Regions from separate parts of the Homo sapiens genome. Here region 1 is linked to region 2. Evidence: promoter capture Hi-C in 16 types of primary human blood cells and fetal thymus (Javierre and others, 2016). All regions are on one chromosome and are shown on one strand. Each heading gives the region's core, a stretch centred on a gene start or on the middle of the fragment in contact. The rest is flanking DNA. Distances are from core to core; before and after follow the strand shown. Region 1 overlaps DAPP1 (dual adaptor of phosphotyrosine and 3-phosphoinositides 1). Region 2 holds the start of CISD2 (CDGSH iron sulfur domain 2).

Region 1 (3,304 bases), core at 429-2,928, 3.0 Mb after region 2:
TTTTAAAGTTTCCTCTGGTATAATTTCTGAAATAGCAATTCATGTAAATAAAATGGGAATAACAATAAATACAAAGGCAGAAGTTAAAGTTGATTCACACTCTTTAGAACAATAGGTTTACTTCATGTACCAAACATGTTATTGTAGACTTTAAAGAAGAGATAAAGAAGAGACTGAGGGATAGGACTAAGACATGTGTTACAGCCCTGCCATATCCTACAATCATTCTACTACATTATTGTAGCAGAAATTCTTCCAAATTTATTAAAGGCCATGCTGTGCCATGGCAGCAATGTATTGCAGTGTCGCTGTAGGACCAATTTCAAGAGATAGCAAGGTGCCTGGAAAGCATCTATGCTTCAGGACCAGGTTAGCCCAGATTCCAATCTCAGCTCTGAGTTCTTCCAAATCCATTTAAGGCCACACTGTACCATGGCAACAATGTACTGTTATTGTGGGACCAGTTTCAAAAGATAGCAAGGTGCATGGAAAGCATCTATGCTTTAGAACCAGATTAGCCCAGATTCCAATCTCAGCCCTGATGTTTACCAGCAGTGAAAACTTGGGCAAGTGACTTAAAACCTCTGAGTTTTCCTTTCCTCATCTGAAAATAGGACCGTTGTATGCATTATTGTGGGTGGCTGAGATGAAATAAGTTGATGTAGGTGAATGCCTGGAACCTAGCAAACACTCTAAAAATGTTGGCTTAATTCCCTTCCTCAGCTGCTTTTTCCTTTTTCGAATAAAACTCATCTATAAACTGAGAACATTTTGTATTTTTGGCAAACATCCAAGGAAGTTTGGAAAAATTCTAAGTTGTCACTAGTTGTTTTCTGAAGAACCACCCAATTCTCAAATTAAAATTAATTTTAACCACATTATTTAAAAATATCACCTGGGTGGTGTCACAAAACAAAATAATAATAGCGGTAGCTGTCGTCAAAAGATTGGGAATCCCCATATCAAAACAAAAAGAGAAATGGAGATTTGACATTTACCAAAAAACCAGATGAGATCTTTAAAATTGGGAACCAATTATTATAAAGGGTAAGCACAAACATAGAACTTGACTTGTATTATATTTTTTCATGCCTGTTAGGTGATTACAGTCACAATACAATGTAATAAATTATACATGGCAATTTCATGTTAAGAATTATTGAAACATAAACAAAAGGTAATGGTAAAAGTAATTTTTTGTTCTAATCATATTTAGACATTTAAGCATAAAGATAAATGCCGTCTACATTTTCAAGACTATATATATGAAACTTAGCTAATTACAAGAGGCTACGACAAAATTAATAATGGACCAAACATATTTATACTAATAAAAAAGTTTCTCAAATTTTCAAGTCTATTTGAGTTTAGTTTAGAGTTCATGCACAGACATGAATATGTTTTATTTGATATCCTACTATTGAGACAGAAAAACTCCAACCGGCCTGCCCACTGAGGTGAAGCCTTAGGAAGTTCGTGTCCTTTGCAGTGGGGAGGAGCCTGGCCCCTCCTCTTCCTGTGAGGAACATAGAATTCAAACTGCTGGGCAGGAAGCGCTCTAGCTTCCCTGTTTCCCTCTTTTCTTTCTTTTCATCCAATAAAACCCTGCTTCACTCACCCTTCAAACCGTCTGCGAGCCTAAATTTTTGTGGCCGTGGGATGGAGAGGGACCCGATCTTTAGCTGAACTAAGGAAAAGTCCTGCAACACTATCACAAATGAAAGGCAAATTCTGAATTTAATCATCACTGAGCATACATGCAACACAAAATATCATTTCAAATTATGTTTTTATAAACTTTGAAAGTTAAAATTGTCACAAGTTTGCTAGTTTTGATGTTGCCATGCAAAAAACTGCAATGCAGGCATTGGAAATGGGGCATCCAGCATGACATATTGTGGAAATGATCAGTACTTATTTTTTCAGGTCCTGGGACATAGCAGGAAGCAAAGCTGACAAAAGTCCCTTTCTTCATGGAGTTCACACACTAGTGTGGAAAAAAAGGTATTTTTTTAAAAAACATAAGTGAATTATAGATGTCAGAAGGTAAAAGGGCCATTGAGAAAAATAAAGCAAGAGAGTACATTGTATATCTCTATCATGTACTTGGGAAATTATTAGGTTTTGAGAATTGGAAGTATCTTAAGAGTGTTTATGGGTATTGATAAAAAGAAATTAGAGTGAACAGAAACTTTAATGGAGATTAGAGAGATGAAATAGAGATTATGGCAAGGGAAAGGGAAATTATCATAAAATACTCTTAAAGTTGTCAAGAGGCTTAGATGTTGCTTAGGAAATCCTTGCTTTTCAGATTAGCAAACAGAAATCCTAAAAGTGTAAAGAGTAGGGAATAGAAAAAAAAGATATCTTAAAATAGCATTAATCCCCTTAGGTCAACACTTTTATCTATTTTGAGTGCAAAAATGTTCTTACGACCCAAAATCAAATATTCTGGGTTTCACTCTACTGAAGGCATTATATATAACTGCAAGGCAAAAGTGTAAAGTTTTGGCTATTTGGATATCATTTCTGTTGCCCTCAAAGGTAATACCACTTGTGCCAGTAGATAAATGTATTATAAGAAAGTCACTCTTTAATAAACTTACCCTCTAGACCCTGCAGGGTGAGGCTGGGCCTGGGTGGGGTCTGGCTGAGAGCAGTGGCCTGAAATATCCAATTCTAGTCCTTGTCATTCTGGTAATCTGAAGTTGAGAGCCCTGGGAGGGGCTTGTCCATTGTGTGGACAAATGCTTTTCCTGGTGATGTTAATCAAACATAAGCTATAAGAAATATCTGTACTTCTGGCGTGAACCCGGGAGGCGGAGCTTGCAGTGGGCCGAGATCGCGCCACTGCACTCCAGCCTGGGCGACAGAGCGAGACTCCGTCTCAAAAAAAAAAAAAAAAAGAAAGAAATATCTGTACTTCATCTGAAGGTGAACATGAAATCGTTAGCCTGAAGATCTTCTGATCACTGGGAGCCAATACTAGGAGCCCATGCTTAAATGAACAAGAAGAAAAGGCCTATTTTTAGAAGGTGGCATGTCAGTTTCCATTCACCATTCTTTATAGTCTGCAATGCTGACTCCGTAACCTTGAGGAATTTCTGGGCTTACAAGTCATCATGACTTGAGCACATTATCTTGTTTCCCAAGGCCTATTACTCCCAGAGGGGCAAGATTTGAACACTCATCTGTCATGGGTTTTGCCTGTTGTTCCTAGCCCTGATGGCTTTCCCTTCATCTGGCTGGGACAGATAAGAGGAATAAAGCTGGTGGACTCTAACTCAAGGGCTGGAAGCCAGCA
Region 2 (3,345 bases), core at 264-2,763:
TCAACAGAGCGTCTGTCTGACCATAATTCAATGAATCTCTAGATTTGGAAGAGAATTTGTCATCTAGTTTATCCCTTCTAAATCTATCGACCACCCACCACCAGAGTCTTTTTGTTTGTTTTTTTCATCTTTGAGAGGGGCTATCACTGAAGCACCACATTTGTTTGGGGAAAGCATTCTTTAATTTAAAAAAAAATCTTCCTTAGACTGAAATTCACCTCCCAATAACCTTCACTAATTTGGTTAATTTGTTATCAGTTCTATATTTTAGTCTACACAAATCTTATTTTTCTTCTACCAGACAGCTGTGCGATTGCTGTATTTTAGGTCAGGTACTACAGATCTTTAGAACGTTCCCGGCGAAGCAACCCTATTTACCTCAGAATTATCTTAATTCATGTTTGCACTCCCTGATAACCTAGGACATAGGAGTTCAATACTTGCTGATTCCTTCACCATCCTACTCGGTCTGAGTTCCGTTTAGAAATATCCCCCTTACAATGAAATGCTCATAACTCAACACAATCTCCCAAGTGTTGACTGCATTCTGGAGATTTTCATCCTTTAGATGTGAAATCCTCATGAGTTGTGTGGGTTAAGTGAGGGTCCTTAAGTATAGAACGTTACATATATTCACTAAATTTCATTTTCTAAGATTTCACTCCTCATACCGGCCTTCGAATACTTTCTTGGGTAAGGTATCTTTCTTCCAACTTAAGTTACCGCAGCGGGCCCCGGGACCGTAGAAACGGAGATGACCTCAAATGCCACCTATGATAGGTCAATTCTAACCTGAGGGAATGGAGGTTATCTCCTAATTTCGTTACTAAATAAAACGGTCATATACGTGTTACGTGTAAGTCTATATTTCTCTCCCACACACTCCCACCCACATGCTGAGGGTACAACCCAGCCGGTAGCTGGGGCTGCCTGTTACATGAGGCCTTAGATAACGACGACTTAGCCCGCTTTAAAATAAACAAGTACGCTACAGAGAGCGATGAGCAGGACAGGAGATGAAAGAGACTGGCCTGTTCCCAACTCAGCACCTTCTCTGCAAAAACCTGGTATCTTGCCACGGAATGACACCGGAGACAACTCCGAGGACAAAAGACCCTGGGGCATCAAGCACCCGGAGACTGCCTCACAGGCGTTCCCCAGGCAGCTGCGTCGGCGCGCGCCCACCTTCCTCTGCGCGCGGGGATCACGTGCCAGGCGCCGAGCTCCGTCCCGCCCCTTGGCCCTAGGATTTTTACGCCTCCTTCCCCCGCTTGGCGAACGTGCAAGGATGGGGACTGGCTGATGGGGGAGGATTACCTGTGAGCCTAGCGAACCCGGTAATGCTTTCAGGGACTGGGAGCCGCTTCAGATATGCAGGGAGCTGCACCTTCACGATACGGGCCACGCTCTCCAGCACCATCCTGGCCAGCGGCGTCCACTCCTCTCCCGAGCCCCCTCCGCTCTGGCCAAGCTGCCGCGCCTGCGCCGGGAGCGGAAGCGGCCGGCGGGCACTGGCGGCCTCGGCCTGGGCGGCGGGCGGGGCGGCGGGCCCTGGGAGGAGAGGTGACCTGCCGGGCGCCGATTGGCGGCGGGCGAGTGACGTACGCTCGCGGCGGACTGCCGAGGCGCGGGAACTGGCGGGTAGCGAGGCCCTCCTCGGAATCTCGTGTGAAGGTGGCCCTCCTCTTGGGCCTTTAACGTCTGTAGATGCTGGAGACCAGCAGAAAGGATACTGTGTGCGATGAGATAAGCATGTGAGAATGCTTTCTAACCGAAAGTGCCTTTCAAAAGTGAGTCTCTTGCTGTCTCTACTTCGTCCCCTCTCGCCCCGCCTCTTCCCCTACAGTTTGGGTGCTGTGGCCCTAGGGTTGCATACTCGCCCATGAGTATCCTCCCCCTACCCAGACCCCAGTGCCTAATTTTACTCCTTCACCCAAAGGCCAGGCTTAAAAAAATAAAAATTAAAATATTTTAACTAAACCAGGAACTGTTTACATCTCTGCCCCTTGGCAACTTAACTGCAGCCCTAGCTCCAAAAACCTCTGGTTTTTGCCACTCAGAGAAGATTCGTAGTAGTCCTTCCTTAGATATTTTCAGTTCCTTTTCCTTCGGGAAAGTGGTAAAAGAATCCAAAGCTGGCCGGGCGCGGTGGCTCACGTCTGTAATCCCAGCACTTAGGGAGGCCGAGGCGGGTGGATCACGAGGTCAGGAGTTCGAGGCCAGCCAGGTCAAGATGGTGAAACCCCGTCTCTACTAAAAATAGAAAAATTAGCCGGGCGCGGTGGCAGGTGCCTGTCCCAGCTACTCGGGAGACTGAGGCAGGAGAATCGCTTGAACCAGGGAGGCGGAGGTTGCAGTGAGCCGAGAATGTGCCACTGCACTCTAGCCTGGGAGACAGAGCAAGACTCCGTCACAAAAAAAAAAAAAAAAAAGAATCTAAAGCCTTATGTATGGTTTTCTTTATGTTACAAGGCTTCTGCTGAAGTCTAGCGCAGGGGGTCCTTATGGCTTCCCTAGGCCACACTGGAAGAAGAATTGTCTTGGGCCACACATAAATACACTAACACTAATGGTAGCTAATGAGCTAAAAAAAAATTTTTTTTCATAAAGTTTTAAGAAAGTTTACAGATTTGCATTGAGTGGCATTCAAAGCCATCCTGTTGGGCAAGCTTGATCTTGAAGGTTTTAATTTTGTTGTTGTTGTTGTTGTTACAAGGTTTCGCTCTATCGCCCAGGCTGTAGTGCAGTGGTCAGATCATAGCTCACCGCAGACTCTAACTCCGGCTTAAGGGATCCTTCTGCCTCAGCCTTCCAAGTAGCTGGGTTTACAGGCGTGTGCTGCCACACCCAACGAATTTTAAAAATTTTTGTGTGTATGTAGATGGAGTCCCATTATATCGCCCAGGCTGGATAGTTGTTTTTATTAATATCTCTAAAAGATTTGAAGGGTAAGAGGAGAAAATTTCACTCCCTTGAAATAACTTTCTTGCTATGACTTTGTTTCATATTTTGGCTGAAGTCAAAATGTCCGAAGTTGTGCACTTGCTGATTGGATAATGTGTGTGATATCTTAATAATATGCCTCATTATTTACAGTTCTACACTTAACAACATATAATAACGAACTGCTAATGGTCCAGTATTTCATTGTGTATGACAGTGTAACAGCCAGTTATAATAAATACTTTCCATTTTTCCCCTTGGTATTTTTATTTTACAGTGAGAAAAGGAAGGAATTTTTTAAAGCAATCTTTCATTCTCTGGACTGTATAAATTTAGTGTTTGTGATTGTCCTTCACTAAAAAAGAATATCAGTAATAGAGTTGACCAAAATCTAGATTAAAT

Evidence for each region. Contacts are between HindIII fragments. The CHiCAGO score rates a contact against its expected background, and 5 or more counts as called.
Region 1: a contact is called between a fragment that was not itself captured here and the fragment with the promoter of CISD2 in region 2, in 1 of 17 cell types (neutrophils). The highest score is 7.6, in neutrophils.

The regions. Positions count from the first base shown.
Region 1 is chr4:99,842,455-99,845,758 of GRCh38, reverse strand. All of the region lies in intron 3 of DAPP1 (dual adaptor of phosphotyrosine and 3-phosphoinositides 1), which reads right to left. Among named protein-coding and RNA genes, the nearest start is that of DAPP1, 27 kb to the right of the region's middle. The HindIII fragment of the contact is 3,832 bases long and covers 1-3,304 here.
Region 2 is chr4:102,867,160-102,870,504 of GRCh38, reverse strand. It overlaps CISD2 (CDGSH iron sulfur domain 2), which reads right to left and starts at 1,513. Exons shown (of 3, transcript NM_001008388.5): 1 at 1,318-1,513. The coding sequence starts at 1,420. It also overlaps a transcript of UBE2D3 not described here. RefSeq lists silencers at 1,253-1,372, 1,403-1,692 and an enhancer at 1,923-2,062. The HindIII fragment of the contact is 11,662 bases long and covers 1-2,671 here.